3 separate regions of the Homo sapiens genome follow, and all the other regions are linked to region 1. The links are contacts of gene promoters, found by promoter capture Hi-C in blood cells and fetal thymus (Javierre and others, 2016). All regions are on one chromosome and are shown on one strand. The core of a region is centred on a gene start or on the middle of the fragment in contact, and the rest is flanking DNA. Distances in the headings are between cores, read along the strand shown. Region 1 holds the start of SH3BP1 (SH3 domain binding protein 1). Region 2 holds the start of EIF3L (eukaryotic translation initiation factor 3 subunit L). Region 3 overlaps TRIOBP (TRIO and F-actin binding protein).

The links. The method cuts DNA at HindIII sites, captures the fragments that hold promoters and counts their contacts. A CHiCAGO score of 5 or more calls a contact.
Region 2: a contact is called between the fragment with the promoter of EIF3L here and the fragment with the promoter of SH3BP1 in region 1, in 1 of 17 cell types (erythroblasts). The highest score is 6.7, in erythroblasts.
Region 3: a contact is called between a fragment that was not itself captured here and the fragment with the promoter of SH3BP1 in region 1, in 2 of 17 cell types (M0 macrophages and endothelial precursors). The highest score is 5.8, in M0 macrophages.

The regions. Positions count from the first base shown.
Region 1 is chr22:37,638,419-37,642,711 of GRCh38, forward strand. It overlaps SH3BP1 (SH3 domain binding protein 1), which reads left to right and starts at 1,251. Exons shown (of 18, transcript NM_018957.6): 1 at 1,251-1,428; 2 at 2,708-2,750; 3 at 2,956-3,060; 4 at 4,121-4,197. The coding sequence starts at 1,370. PDXP-DT (PDXP divergent transcript) reads right to left here. Exons shown (of 6, transcript NR_109952.1): 6 at 3,414-4,293. RefSeq lists silencers at 1-218, 849-998, 1,029-1,468. The HindIII fragment of the contact is 8,436 bases long and covers 1-4,124 here.
Region 2 is chr22:37,847,547-37,851,839 of GRCh38, forward strand. EIF3L (eukaryotic translation initiation factor 3 subunit L) reads left to right here and starts at 1,873. Exons shown (of 13, transcript NM_016091.4): 1 at 1,873-1,936; 2 at 2,469-2,517; 3 at 3,734-3,944. The coding sequence starts at 1,904. MIR659 (microRNA 659) reads right to left here and starts at 228; the gene lies at 132-228. It also overlaps a transcript of ANKRD54 not described here. RefSeq lists enhancers at 992-1,514, 1,515-2,037, 2,038-2,559. The HindIII fragment of the contact is 2,543 bases long and covers 230-2,772 here.
Region 3 is chr22:37,770,317-37,774,609 of GRCh38, forward strand. It overlaps TRIOBP (TRIO and F-actin binding protein), which reads left to right. Exons shown (of 24, transcript NM_001039141.3): 22 at 1,334-1,420; 23 at 2,285-2,448; 24 at 3,467-4,293. The coding sequence ends at 2,446. Among named protein-coding and RNA genes, the nearest start is that of H1-0, 33 kb to the right of the region's middle. The HindIII fragment of the contact is 2,695 bases long and covers 848-3,542 here.

The sequences.
Region 1 (4,293 bases), core at 1-2,500:
CAATGAGTCCTGCCTCATTAGGGAGGAGAGAAGCAGCCAGTGAGTGTGCCAGGCCCTGGGCTAGGTGCTGGGAGTATGGAGATGTGTGGGGCCAAGGTCCTGCCTCTGAGAGGCGCCCAGTCTGCACCGGCACACAGTCTGCACCGGCACACAGTAGTGGCTCAAATAGTCTCAAACTAAACTGAAACTAACAAAGCAAAGTGCAGAGGGTGTGGCAGGACTCTGGGGCACACCCTCCCCTCTTCCCCACGCCTGCGGCTCCTGATGCCACAGGGGTGCAGGGTAAGGAGAGCCTACTGTTTCCTAAAGGCGCTCACATCTTGTAAAACCAGCAGTTATGGAGCACTTACTGTATGCCTAACTCTGTGTTGAGTGGAGGGCCAAAGAGGAGAACTACTGAGTTTGGGGGCAGTCAGAGCAGCACCTACATCATTGCCCTACAAGAAGGAAGGGGGACTGAGGCTGTTTGCCAGGAGGAATGAGAGGAGACGGGCTTCACAGATGGAGCAAACTGCCAGGAGATGTGGAGAACAGGGTGTCGCGAACCGCTCTGGGAGGGTTCCTGGTGGCTGAGGGGTGGCACGCACCTCCCTTAAAGGGAGCTGGCAGGGGTGTCTTGTCCACTCTGCAGAATGGGCAGGCCCAGGACAGCTGGCCCATCAGACCATTAGAAACAGCGAGTCCGGAGTTCCAGGGGCTTGTCCACGGCCACACAGCAGCCCGTGGCCCCAGGAAGCCAAAGCTCCCAGCCAGTCATCCAGTGGTGGGGGGTTTAGTTCCAGGGGGCCAGAGGTCCTCTGCGGAAGAGAGTGCAAGGCAGTATCCGCGGCAGGCCCAGAGAGGCCAGGACAGGTCAGAAAGGCCTACCCCTCTTTCGCTTGGTACCCTTTCCTCTTTGCGAGGGATGCAAAGGTTATTTATACTTCGGGTCTGCAGGCTGCGGGTGGGGCAGGCACCCCGCCTGGGGCGGGTTGCGGGCGCAGGGGCAGGAATGGGCTTACCTGCTTCCCGCCACCGGGGCTGGGCGGGGCGCTGCGGGGAGGAGGAGCCGGGCACAACCTGTGGACGGCCGCGGCCGGCGGACACACAGCAGCGGGGGCCCGGCCGGGGGTCGCCCGGGGGCCCGGAAGCCGGGGAAGAGCGAGGAAACCAACTTGGAGAGAGGAGTGACCTGGGGGCCGGGGGCGGAGTCGTGAGCGGGGGAGGAGAGAGCCGGCCGCCAGCAAGAGCCGCGCGGCGGCCCAGGAAGCGAGAGCGCCGCCCACCCATCCGGGGCAAGAGCCGCGCCGCAGGAGAGGCAGGCTGGACCGGGGGCTCCCCGGGCCCGCGACCCCCGCCGTGACCCCGCAGCCCCCAGCTCGCCCCCAAGATGATGAAGAGGCAGCTGCACCGCATGCGGCAGCTGGCCCAGACGGGCAGCTTGGGACGGTGAGTGTCACCCGCTTCCAGCCCCACTCTTACCCCGGCAGGACTTGAGGGGTCGTAAAAGGGTCGGGGGAGACGGGGGTGGGGGAGGCTGGGGACAGCTGGGCAGCCACCCTCTGAGCGGCCAGACTCCTGCTCTCTCTTCCTCCTCTCTGAACGCCGCCCCCGTCTCTCGGGCAGAGCTGGAGGAGCAAGGGTGGCCTTTGGGGGAAGGGATGCCCCCCCTTACCGGATTGGAGGGGGCTTCAGGCGGGAGAATGCTCTCTGCCCTAGGACGCTGGGACTTCTCTGCCTCCACGAGTCTCTAAGTGGATGGTCCTCCTGACCTCACTTGTCCCCTCTGGACAATGGGACAGTTCACCACCTCTGCTTGCTGGGCCGGGGAGGGAGGAGGGTCGATTAGGGCCACAGACCTGGGGCGAGGGGAGGAGATGGGTCCTGGCCTGGTGGGAGGAGGGGCCTGCCCCTGGCCTGCAGCGTCCCTCCCCCTCCCCCTCCCCCCAGCCCAGGGGCCTCCTGCTTCTGTCTCGTTTCTGCTTTTCCTGGACTCAGGTGGAAATATCCCCAGGTCTCCCAGCTCCCACCCCCAGCCTCTGAGCCGGTGGCACGGAGGCCGGAAGTTTGGGGAGCCTCTCAGAGCCTGTCTTCTCTGCTCCTCTTCCCCCAGCCTCAGGAGTTCCCCATTCTCTGGGTCCAGGGAGGGGACTGGGTGTCCAGAGACCTGGTTCTAGTCTCACACTGGCACAGATGCCTACATAGCCTGGACAGTCAGACCACCTTGCAGTGGGCCTTGGCATCCCCCATGTGTCCCCAGGTGGGGGCCAAGGGCCTGTGCACCCCTGCCCACAGCTGTAGTCCAGAGTGCTGTGTGACTGTGCCTAGGAGTCTGAGCTCCTGCACTTCCCGTTCTTGGGGCCAGCTAATACTCCTCATCCCGGGGTGGGCTGAGGATTTGGGAGTGGGCAGAAAAGAGGCTTCTGTGTCCCAAAGCTGGGCCCCGGGTGGGTCTCTCAGCCTCCCCTTTAGTTTCATCTGTCCGCCCTCTCTCAGGACACAGCCCTGGGTGGAGGAGGAAAAACCCATGTATCCTATTCCCACCCCCATGGAATGTGCTCCGACTGGGATGAAGCAACTGGGCCACCCAGGGCAGGCCTCAGCTGGGAGGGACAGTGGAAGCACTGGGGTCCAGGTGCCCTGCTGCGGGGAAGGGAAGTAGGGGGCGTTCTAACCCAGGCAGGCTCAGCAGAAGCACTCTCCCCCCCCCCCCCACCACTCCCCGCAGCACCCCGGAGACCGCTGAGTTCCTGGGTGAGGACCTGCTGCAGGTACGTGCCTGGGCCGGGCAGGTGGGAAGGCAGGCCTGTGCAGGCTGTCTCGGAGCAGAGGGCCGGGGCGGGGACGCCAGGTAGGGGCCTGGGTTGAGTCATTCCTCAAGCTGTTGGCCATGGGGTCCCCAGGGGACAGGAGAAAGTTTCCTGCTCAGGGGGAGACAGCCTCTCTTGATCCTTAACCTCCATACCTCCTTCCCAGGTAGAACAGCGGCTGGAGCCGGCCAAGCGGGCAGCCCACAACATCCACAAGCGGCTGCAGGCCTGTCTGCAGGGCCAGAGCGGGGCAGACATGGACAAGCGGGTGGTGAGTGGGGGGTCCCGGGAAGGAGGGGCCTGAGCAGGAGACTTCCATCCAATGGGGAAGCAAGGTCGGGGCTGGGGTTTCCTTGCCAGTCTGAGTGTCTGGCACCAAGGGCATGGAGACTGCTCTGTTCCAAGGCCCCTCTGGCACTGCACTCAAGAGGCCCTATACCTTCCCCATCACCTTTACCCCACTTCCCTGTGCACCAGTTCCCATAAGCCAAGGCCAGGCTTCTGACAGCACCTGAACTTCTCTGTCCAATCAGTGCGCAAGAGCAGGCTGTCAATGGGGCGGCCTCAGAGGGTTTCCTGAAGGAGGTAGCAATTGAGCTGGCTTTTGAGGGATACACGTTTATTAATCAAGAGGCAGCGTTTATTGGCTGATAACCGCCAGCTTGTTACTAACATATGAGTGCACTGTCTCATGGAACACTGGCACAACCCTAGGGGCAGGCATTGCTTTACACATGAGGAACTGGAGGCTCAGAGATAAAGTCACTTGTCCAAGGTCACATAGCTAGTAAGTGGCAGAACTGAGGTTTGAACCCTGGTCTCTGATCCCAGAGCAGGCATTCCCCGTAACTCCAGATGGGGTGGGAGTGTGGGGCCATGTTTTGGAATCAGTTGACAATTCAGTGTGGCCAAGGCAAGGAAATTGGGAGCCATAGAGCGTTTGAACTCAGCGGTGGCTAGGTCAGCCATATATACCCTGGGACAGGGGAAAGAGCTCCCGCTCCCATTCTCCCTCCACCTGTGTGACCTGGGGCAAGCTCCCTGCCCTCCCTGCATCTTAGTTTCCCAGTCTGCAGTAGGACTTGGTCATTCCTTCCTGCCCAGTCAAGTGGCTTCTGGGAAGAGGAAAGGGCACGCCAGATGGAGAGGGGCTCCATCCATGCTCTCAGGGAAATGTCACCCCCACCACGCCTTGTCATCTTGTTTCCACTCTCATCTGGGACTGTGGCCCTCCTGGGTTCCCTCCTCCCCTGCCCCAAGGGGCTGGCCTGGTGCTCAGGCAGGGTGGAGGGAGGCACGGACACTCATCGCCGGCCCCACCCTCCCTGCAGAAGAAGCTTCCCCTCATGGCTCTGTCCACCACGATGGCTGAGAGCTTCAAGGAGCTGGACCCTGATTCCAGCATGGGGTGAGCACAGACGGGGCCCAGCCCTCACCTGGGGATACCAAGACGTGATCTCAGCTGGGAGGGGGTCCAGGTGGTGAGGGCATCCACATCAGAAGA
Region 2 (4,293 bases), core at 623-3,122, 210 kb after region 1:
GAAGATTAAATGGAAGATGAGGGTTGGTTAGATCAGATCTCTTTCACTGTCATTATTTTCTCACTGTTACAATTTTTGCAAAGGTGGTTTCAGCAATAAAAATATTTCACAAATTTTACAAAAGCAAAGGACCATGAGGACATTGTTGGGGACCCTCCCTGAACCAAGGAAGAGACTGTGACTCTTCCTTGGTTCAGGGAAGGTCCTGAACCAAATCGAGGGTCGGTAAAGCTTAAGCTCCATTATTTCCAAATTTGTGTCACCTCTGGTGACAGCACAAGGAAGAAACACAAAACAAGAACGCAGCATAGGGAGTTGGGGCTGGGCATTGCAATTCTCAATAGGATGTTGAGTGGATGGCATCAGAGCAGACACCTGAAGGTGCCATGCAGATACCGATGGGGAAGGGAATGGGAGTGGGGGTGCCACTGCATTCGATTCTAGACTTGGATAACAGTGAGTGCAAAATCCCAGAGGTGGAGCGTGCCTCAGTGGGAAAAGCAAGGAGGGCGGCGTGACAAAGGGACCCAGAGAGTCCTGGTCACACAGCAAATCAGTGGCGGAGTAGGGACTGGAACTCGGATTTCCACTAGGTGTTGTGTATGGGCAGATGGCTAAACTAAGGCCTCTCCTTGACTCATACACCGGTTTTTATTGGTTTGCTTTATAACCCCATCTCTACCTTGAGGGTTTCCCCTGGCCTCGAACCCGGTGTACTCAAGAGCTGCCCATGTCCCAGGCTTCGCGACACAGCTGGCCTCATCTTTGCCTGCTCCAACTTTAATGTCCAAAGTTGGGTGGCTCCTGTTCTCCATTCCCTCTTACTGCATGGGACCAAATCTCAATTTTTTTTTTTCTTTTTTTTTTTAGACGGAGTCTTGCTCTGTCGCCCAGGCTGGAGTGCAGTGGCGCGATCTCGGCTCACTACAGCCTCTGCCTCTCAGGTTCCACCGATTCTCCTGCTTCAGCCTCCTGAGTAGCTGGGATTACAGGCGGACGCTACCACTCCCGGCTAATTTTTGTATTTTTAATAGAGACGGGGTTTCGCCATTTCGGCCAGGCTGGTCTCGAACTCCTGATCTCAGATCATCCACCCGCCTCGGCCTCCCAAAGTGTAGGGATTACAGGCGTGAGCCATCGCGCCCGGCCAAATCTCAATTTTTATCCCCAGTAAGTTTAGTCTTGTGAAGTCCGAACGTTTGAATAATTTACTCGCTGCAGGCAAACCGCCTACAACTAAATCCATCAGGCCCCCGTATCCGAATCTTCCTTCACGCGAGAAGCCGGCCATCTTTTGTGTAGCATTCTTTCTGGTTCCTCTAACTTTGCCTCTCCTTTACGCCAAATACGTGTCCTTATATCTGAATCTACACCACTATTATAGATTCACCTTCTTTGAGAAGTCCCTATTTGAAGAGAGGAAAATTCAGGCTACTTGTAACCCTCTTATTCTTTTTAGACGGAGTTTTCCCTCTTGTTGCCCAGGCTAGAGTGCAATGGCGCGATCTCGGCTCACCGCAACCTCCGCCTCCCGGGTTCAAGCGACTCTCCTGCCTCAGCCTCCCGAGTAGCTGGAATTACAGGCATGCGCCACCACTCCCGGCTAATTTTGTATTTTTAGTAGAGACGGGGTTTCTCCATATTGGTCAGGCTGGTCTCAAACCCCCGGCCTCAGCCTCAGGTGATCCGCCCGCCTCGGCCTCCCAAACTGGTGGGGTTACAGGTGTGAGCCACGGAACGCGGCTCCTCTTCCTTCTGGATATGGCTGTCTCAGATGGCCAGAGGCCTCGGAAAGGCTTCCGGTTTCCCGGCAGGCCCGAGTGGGGCTGAACTTCCGGCCTCAGGACGCAGGCGCGGGCCGCTCATTTCGCTCTTTCCGGCGGTGCTCGCAAGCGAGGCAGCCATGTCTTATCCCGCTGATGATTATGAGTCTGAGGTAAGGTGGCCGTAAGGGCGCGGTGGGCTCCACGACGGGGTGATCTCTGGGACCACTGGATGTGGGTCCCGGCGCGAGGCAGCTTCCGGGTCGCGGCCAGCTCCGGCCGACCTCCCGCCCGGCCCTCAGGCTGCTCCCACAGTTCCCGGTCCCTAGACAACCCTGGCTCTGCCCGCCCACTTCGCGTGTTCGATTGGCTTGTCCTTCCCCTTTCTAAGACCGGAGACTAAGGCCTGTTAGACGTTTCTGTGTTTCTGCACCTGAGTTTTTTTGGTCTAGGCTCCGTCTGGTCAAATCTCGCTGATTCCCACAGCCTCTTGTCCTTTGCTCCACCTCATTGCACCCGTAATGTTGTATTGTCATTGTCTGTTTACTGTCCCTTTTCTCTAAGGCGTGTGAGTTCCTCAAAGGCAGGCACAGTGTCTTATTCGCCTCTGTATCCTTAGCTCTCTGCTTGGCATCTAGACTCTAGGATGAGCGTTTTGAATTCACGACTTGGCGGCTGTCCTTGACTGTGTCTCTTTCCTTCTAGGCGGCTTATGACCCCTACGCTTATCCCAGCGACTATGATATGCACACAGGTGAGACCACGGGTTAGGCTGGCTGAGTACTCGTAGGGATCAGTTCCTTTGGAATGTCTTAGAACCAGCTCTGACAGGCATCAAAAATTGCTCTTTGATGGTCCAGGTTTGGAGTCAGTCATTAGCTGCCAGTGCGAGGGGTTTTATAAAGCCTAATAAACCAGGCTTTTTATCATAGTCCACCTCAGTCTTGGAAGAGAAGGATTACTTACCTGGCTATGGTTTTCTTGTGTAAACTATTAGCCAAATAAGAAAAGCTTTTTTGTTTTTGTTTTTGTTTTTGTTTTTGAGATGGAGTTTCCCTCTGTCCCCCAGGCTGGAGTGCAGTGGTGCGATCTCGGCTCACTGCAACCTCCGCGTCCCTCGTTCAAGCAGTAGTTCTCTTGTCTCAGCCTCCTGAGTAGCTGGGATTACAGGCGCCCACCACCATTCCCAGCTAATTTTTAAATTTTTTTAATAGAGACGAGGTTTCGCCGTGTTGTCCAGGCTGGTCTTGAACTCCTGACCTCAGGTGATCCACCCGCCCCAACCTCCCAAAGTGCTGGGATTACAGGCGTGAGCCACCGCGCCTGCCCCAAGGAAGAAAATCTTGATGTGAAAAATTTAAGTAATTCAAACCAAGCCCGAATGAAATCTTTTTAGGAGGTGTCTGAGGTTTCCTGAAACGTTATAGTGACTTGACTTAGTAGTCAGTGTTATCCATTGTTCTAAGTACTTTGTATGAAATATTTTGTTTAATCCTTACAGCAGTTCTGTATGTTAATGTCTCCTAAAGAATAGAAAATATAGCAGAGAGGTTTATTAGTAGTAACTTGGCACAGTCATATATTTAAAAGGTGACAGTTATTCATTCAAGAAATATTAAGTACCTGTTACCACTTACTTTCCAACAGTCTTGCCTCTCTCCCCTCCAACGCACACTTTTCTAGGCCCTGAGGGTATGTCTGAGTACAAGACAGACGAGATTCCTGACTTCCTAGACTTGGGAGAAGGGTGCAAAACAGATAATAAGTGAAAAATAACTTTAAGTCATGGTAATATTTTTGAAGAAACAGGGACAACGAGATTGGGAGTGACTTGAGATGTTTGTATCTCTGAGTATTCAAAAGGGAATTTTACGCAGACCTGAGTTTAGTTTCTGGGGTGGTCTTGCCATTTCGTTCTATCATATATGTGGGTTTGAGCATACTCTGTATTTGTTGTATCCAACCTCCAGGAGATCCAAAGCAGGACCTTGCTTATGAACGTCAGTATGAACAGCAAACCTATCAGGTGATCCCTGAGGTGATCAAAAACTTCATCCAGTATTTCCACAAAACTGTCTCAGATTTGATTGACCAGAAAGTGTATGAGCTACAGGCCAGTCGTGTCTCCAGTGATGTCATTGACCAGAAGGTGTATGAGATCCAGGACATCTATGAGAACAGGTATGGGCTACTGGCTGAAAGGGCCTCTTTCTGGGTGGGACTGGCCTGGTAATATAGTTCCTACAAATGAGGTGAGCACTCTGTAAACAGTACTTTCGGGGGGGTTGGGGGGTGGGGGTCTTTGTGAGTCCTTGAGGCTAGGGACATTTTATTTTGTTAGACTTTATTTTATTTATGCATTTGTTTATTTTTTGAAACGGAGTGTCACTCTGTCGCCCAGGCTGGAGTGCAGTGGCAAGATCTCGGCTCACTGCAACCTCCGCCTCCTGGGTTCAAGTGATTCTCCAGCCTCAGCTTCCCGAGTAGCTGGGACTACAGGCATGTGCCACCATGCCTAGTTAATTTTTTT
Region 3 (4,293 bases), core at 945-3,444, 130 kb after region 1:
GCGGGTGCCTGTAGTCCCAGCCACTCCGGAGGCTGAGGCAGGAGAATGGCATGAACCTGGGAGGCGGAGCGTGCAGTGAGCCGAGATCGTGCCACTGCACTCCAGCCTGGGTGACAGAGCGAGACTCCGTCTCAAAAAAAAAAAAAATATTAAAAAAAAAAAGCGATTATCCTGCCTCAGCCTCCCAAGTAGCTAGGATTACAGGCATGTGCCACCTCGCCTGGATAATTTTGTATTTTTAGTAGAGACAGGGTTTTTCCATGTTGGTCAGGCTCTTCTCGAACTCCCAACCTCAGGTGATCCGCCCACTTCGGCCTCTCAAAGTGTTGGGATTACAGGCGTGAGCCACCGTGCCCAGCCGATATTTTATTTCTCTTTTTTTTTTTGAGACGGAGTCACTCTGTCACCCAGGCTGGAGTGCAGTGGCACCATCTCGGCTCACTGCAAGCTCCGCCTCTCGGGTTCATGCCATTCTCCTGCCTCAGCCTCCCGAGTAGCTGGGACTACAGGCACCCGCCACCACACCTGGCTAATTTTTTGTATTTTTAGTAGAGACGGGGTTTCACCATGTTAGCCGGGATGGTCCCAATCTCCTGACCTCGTGATCCGCCCGCCTCTGCCTCCCAAAGTGCTGGGATTACAGGCGTGAGCCACCGCTCCTGGCCCCAATATTTTATTTCTTCAACAAACACTTAGGTGAGGCTCACTCTGTACCTAGAAATTCTGGAAGCCCTTTTTGTCTGTTAACTCATCTAATCTTCCTGACAGCTCCATACATTAGCTACTATGACTGTCCCCATTTACAGATGAGGAAACTGAGGCACAGGAAGGTCAAGTACCTTACCAAAGCTTTTATAGCTGGACTGGGATTTGAACCAGGCAGTCTGGCTCCAGTCTGAGCTTTTAAGCCTCCCCAGTCCTGGCTGAACTTGTTTCCTCCTTGGTCAAGTCAGCAGCACCTAGCCCTCGGGGTTGGGGAGGGGTTAATGAGGTGCCTTGTGGAGTGGTTCAGCCTGCTCAGGTTTATGTAGGGCTTCTTTTCATCCATCTCACTCCCGAGGTGAGAGCCTGGTGCTGCATGAGGGCTGCAGCAGACTTGACCGTGAGATATCCACTCACACGGGCTGGACAGGGGTGAGAGTAAGGGAAGGCAAAGCAGGGGAATCGGAGAGGGCTTCCTGGAGGAGTCCGCCTCCAGGATGTAGAGGGTTTTTGTGCAGATAGGGGCTGCATTCTAGGGGCCTGAGGCAGAGAGAACCCGGGCTGCAGGGCACTATGGGCCAGGGTAGCTCTGGCTTCTGGCCCTGGGTCAGTCCAGCACCTATATCCCCAGGTGCTGCTTCGCGTAAAAGAAAACGAACTCCAGTACCTAAAGAAGGAGGTGCAGTGCCTCCGGGACGAGCTCCAGATGATGCAGAAGGTAGGTCCTTCCGCTGGGCTGGGGGCCGTCGGGGACTCTGGAGCCATCTGGATGCCATCCTGTGAGCACCTGCTCTGTGCCAAGCCCTCCACTCGCTTCATCCTTCCTCAGGCTCTCCTGTGCTTCTCCCATGTAGGTGTCATCATCCCCATTCACTGACAGGGAAACTGAGACTAAGAAAGGGGAAGTGACTTCCCCAAGGCTGTACTTGGCTTCTGTTTATTTAGCATTATTTAATTTATTGATTATTATTGAGCACCTACTATATCCTGGGCACTGTGCTAGGTGCTGGGAAGACAGATGTGAACAAAATAACCCCAAATCTCTGCTGTGGGGAGCTTGCACTCCAGTGAGAATAACCACGTTGCTAGGAGTTGGGTGGGTCAGGGTTCAGCCCAGGTCTGAGTCTGCAGCCCGCCTGGCCCACCCTTGGCTGCTATGTCACTGCCTGGTGCGCTCTGTCAGTTTGGGGCAGGAAGTGGACATGTTGGTGGCTCTGTAAGTGCACGTGAGCCAGACCGTGTTTACCGCACTTGAAGAACAGGTGGCGTGAACTCACAGGAAGGGCCCGAGCACCCAGCCAGGCTGACCTGGTTCTCATCCCAGCCACTCACTGCCCTGCGGTCTTGGTCAAAATCTTCTCCCCCGAAACAGGATGAGGATGACAATGACGCCTGTGTCCCTGGGTGGTACCAGGGAGGTGGGAGGGGTAAGCCCAGAACCCACGGCCATCTTGGGGAGCCACCTGGAGGGATGAAGCGAGGTATCTGCGGGGAGGTCTGGCTGCTGGTGCTGCCCATGTGCCCGGTTGGCAGGGCTGGAGGGAGAGACTTCATGCCCTCATACCTGCCTCCTGCCCCCCAGGACAAGCGCTTCACCTCGGGAAAGTACCAGGACGTCTATGTGGAGCTGAGCCACATCAAGACACGGTCTGAGCGGGAGATCGAGCAGCTGAAGGAGCACCTGCGTCTTGCCATGGCCGCCCTCCAGGAGAAGGAGTCGATGCGCAACAGCCTGGCTGAGTAGAGGTGGATGCCGAGGCGTGTGCCCTGCAGGGTGGGCAGGGGCTGAGGCTCTCCCACACCCGGGACTCCCTGGACCACCCCAGCCAGGCCACTTCCTTCTTCTGGCCTCCAATTCCCGTTCTGTAAAAAGGACAATGAAACCAGCAACACGGGGTTGTTGCAGAGATCCCATCAGACCCGGGCCACAGGCTGCTTCATCAGCTTAAGCCTGTTCCTCCAGAGCTGGGCGGCACAGTGCAGAGCCACAGCCTACTCAGTGCACCCCCCTTCTTGGGGCTGGAGGCAAATGCAGCGTGCACATCCCTGACCCCCACAGTGAATCTCCACTGAGCTTCACACACACACATCGCACGCTGAGGCCGGGCTTCTATCCCAGTTAGTCTTAACACTCCTTCTTGACTTAGCAGGGCTCAAAGTGGTTGGTTGGTTGGTTGGTTGGTTGGTTGGTTGGTTGGTTGGTTGGTTTTGGTTGCTTTGAGAAAGGTCTTACTCTGACACCCAGGCTGGAGTGCAGTGGTGCAATCACGGCTCACTGCAGCCTCAACCTCCTAGGCTCAAGGGATCCTCCCACCTCAGCCTTCTGAGTAGCTGGGACCACAGGCCCTCACCACCATGCCCAGATAATTTTTGCACTTTTTGTATAGGTGGGGTTTCGCCGTGATTTCCCAGGCTGGTCTCGAACTCCTGGGCTCAAGCAATACACCTGCCTCAGCCTCCCAAAATTCTGAGATTACAGGTGTGAGCCGCTGCACCTGGCCAAAGTGTTCTTATTTTTGCTTTTTCAACGCCACATCTACCTGGAGCATCCTCTTTCTGATAAGTCCTCATGGACTTCCTATGGCATGCAGGAGAGGCCACCCTATGGCTGAGCTGCTTGGGAAGGAGCCAGGAAGAGCGGATCTGGCTGTACCTTAGGGGCTGAGAGGTGGTGGAAGGACCCACTCAGCACCCTTGCTTGGCCTTGGGGTGGCCTCGCAGCCCCTCAGCCCAGGCCTCAGCCCTGCCGCACCTTGTCTTTCAGGTCCCGCCCAGCTGCAGACCCTCCAGGCTGGAGGACCAGCCGCCCTCCTTCCCTCCTGGATGGAAGTAAAAAGCCAAGCTTTCTCCCCACCCTCTGTGGGCCACACGTGCACTTGCACCCACCACACACACACACACACACACACACACACACACAGACACACAGACACATACGCACACACGTGCACACATGTACACACGGATACACACACACACACACACACTGCATATCTGAGCGCGCCCCTCGCACTGGGTCTCACCTTGCACCTTCTTCAGGATTTTATATGTGAAGAGATTTTTATATAGATTTTTTTCCTTTTTTTCCAAAACACTTTATACTTTAAAAAAAAAAAAAAAAAGCAATTCCTGGTGGCTGTGTGCCTCCAACCCTGGTCCCCCTCTGTCTCCAGCCACCCTCTGCTTGGGCTTCTGAGCTGGTGGCCCTGGCCCAGAGGTCTGGCGGAGGCCCAGGCAGCAGCCATGGCGGGGTGTCTCTACAGGGGAGAGGCGGGAGCCTGCCACCCTCTTCCTGCCCTACCTCCTACTAACACTTCCTGCCCCATTTGGACCCGTACCATGGGGCTCAGGACAGAGGGAGCTAGCAGCTGGCCTCCATGGCCCCACAGCCTCCTTCGAGGCTGTGCTGGGTGCAGAACCGCCAGAGCCACCCAAAAGGTGTTTCTCTTCTGCTCCCTGAACCTCTTAACTTAATAAAACGTTCCAGCAGCTCTGGTGTCCTAGATGGCTGGCAGAACAGGAATGGAGATTGGGGTTTCTTGAAGTGGCTTCCCCACTCACACCCTACCCACACCCCACCCTTCCTAAAGC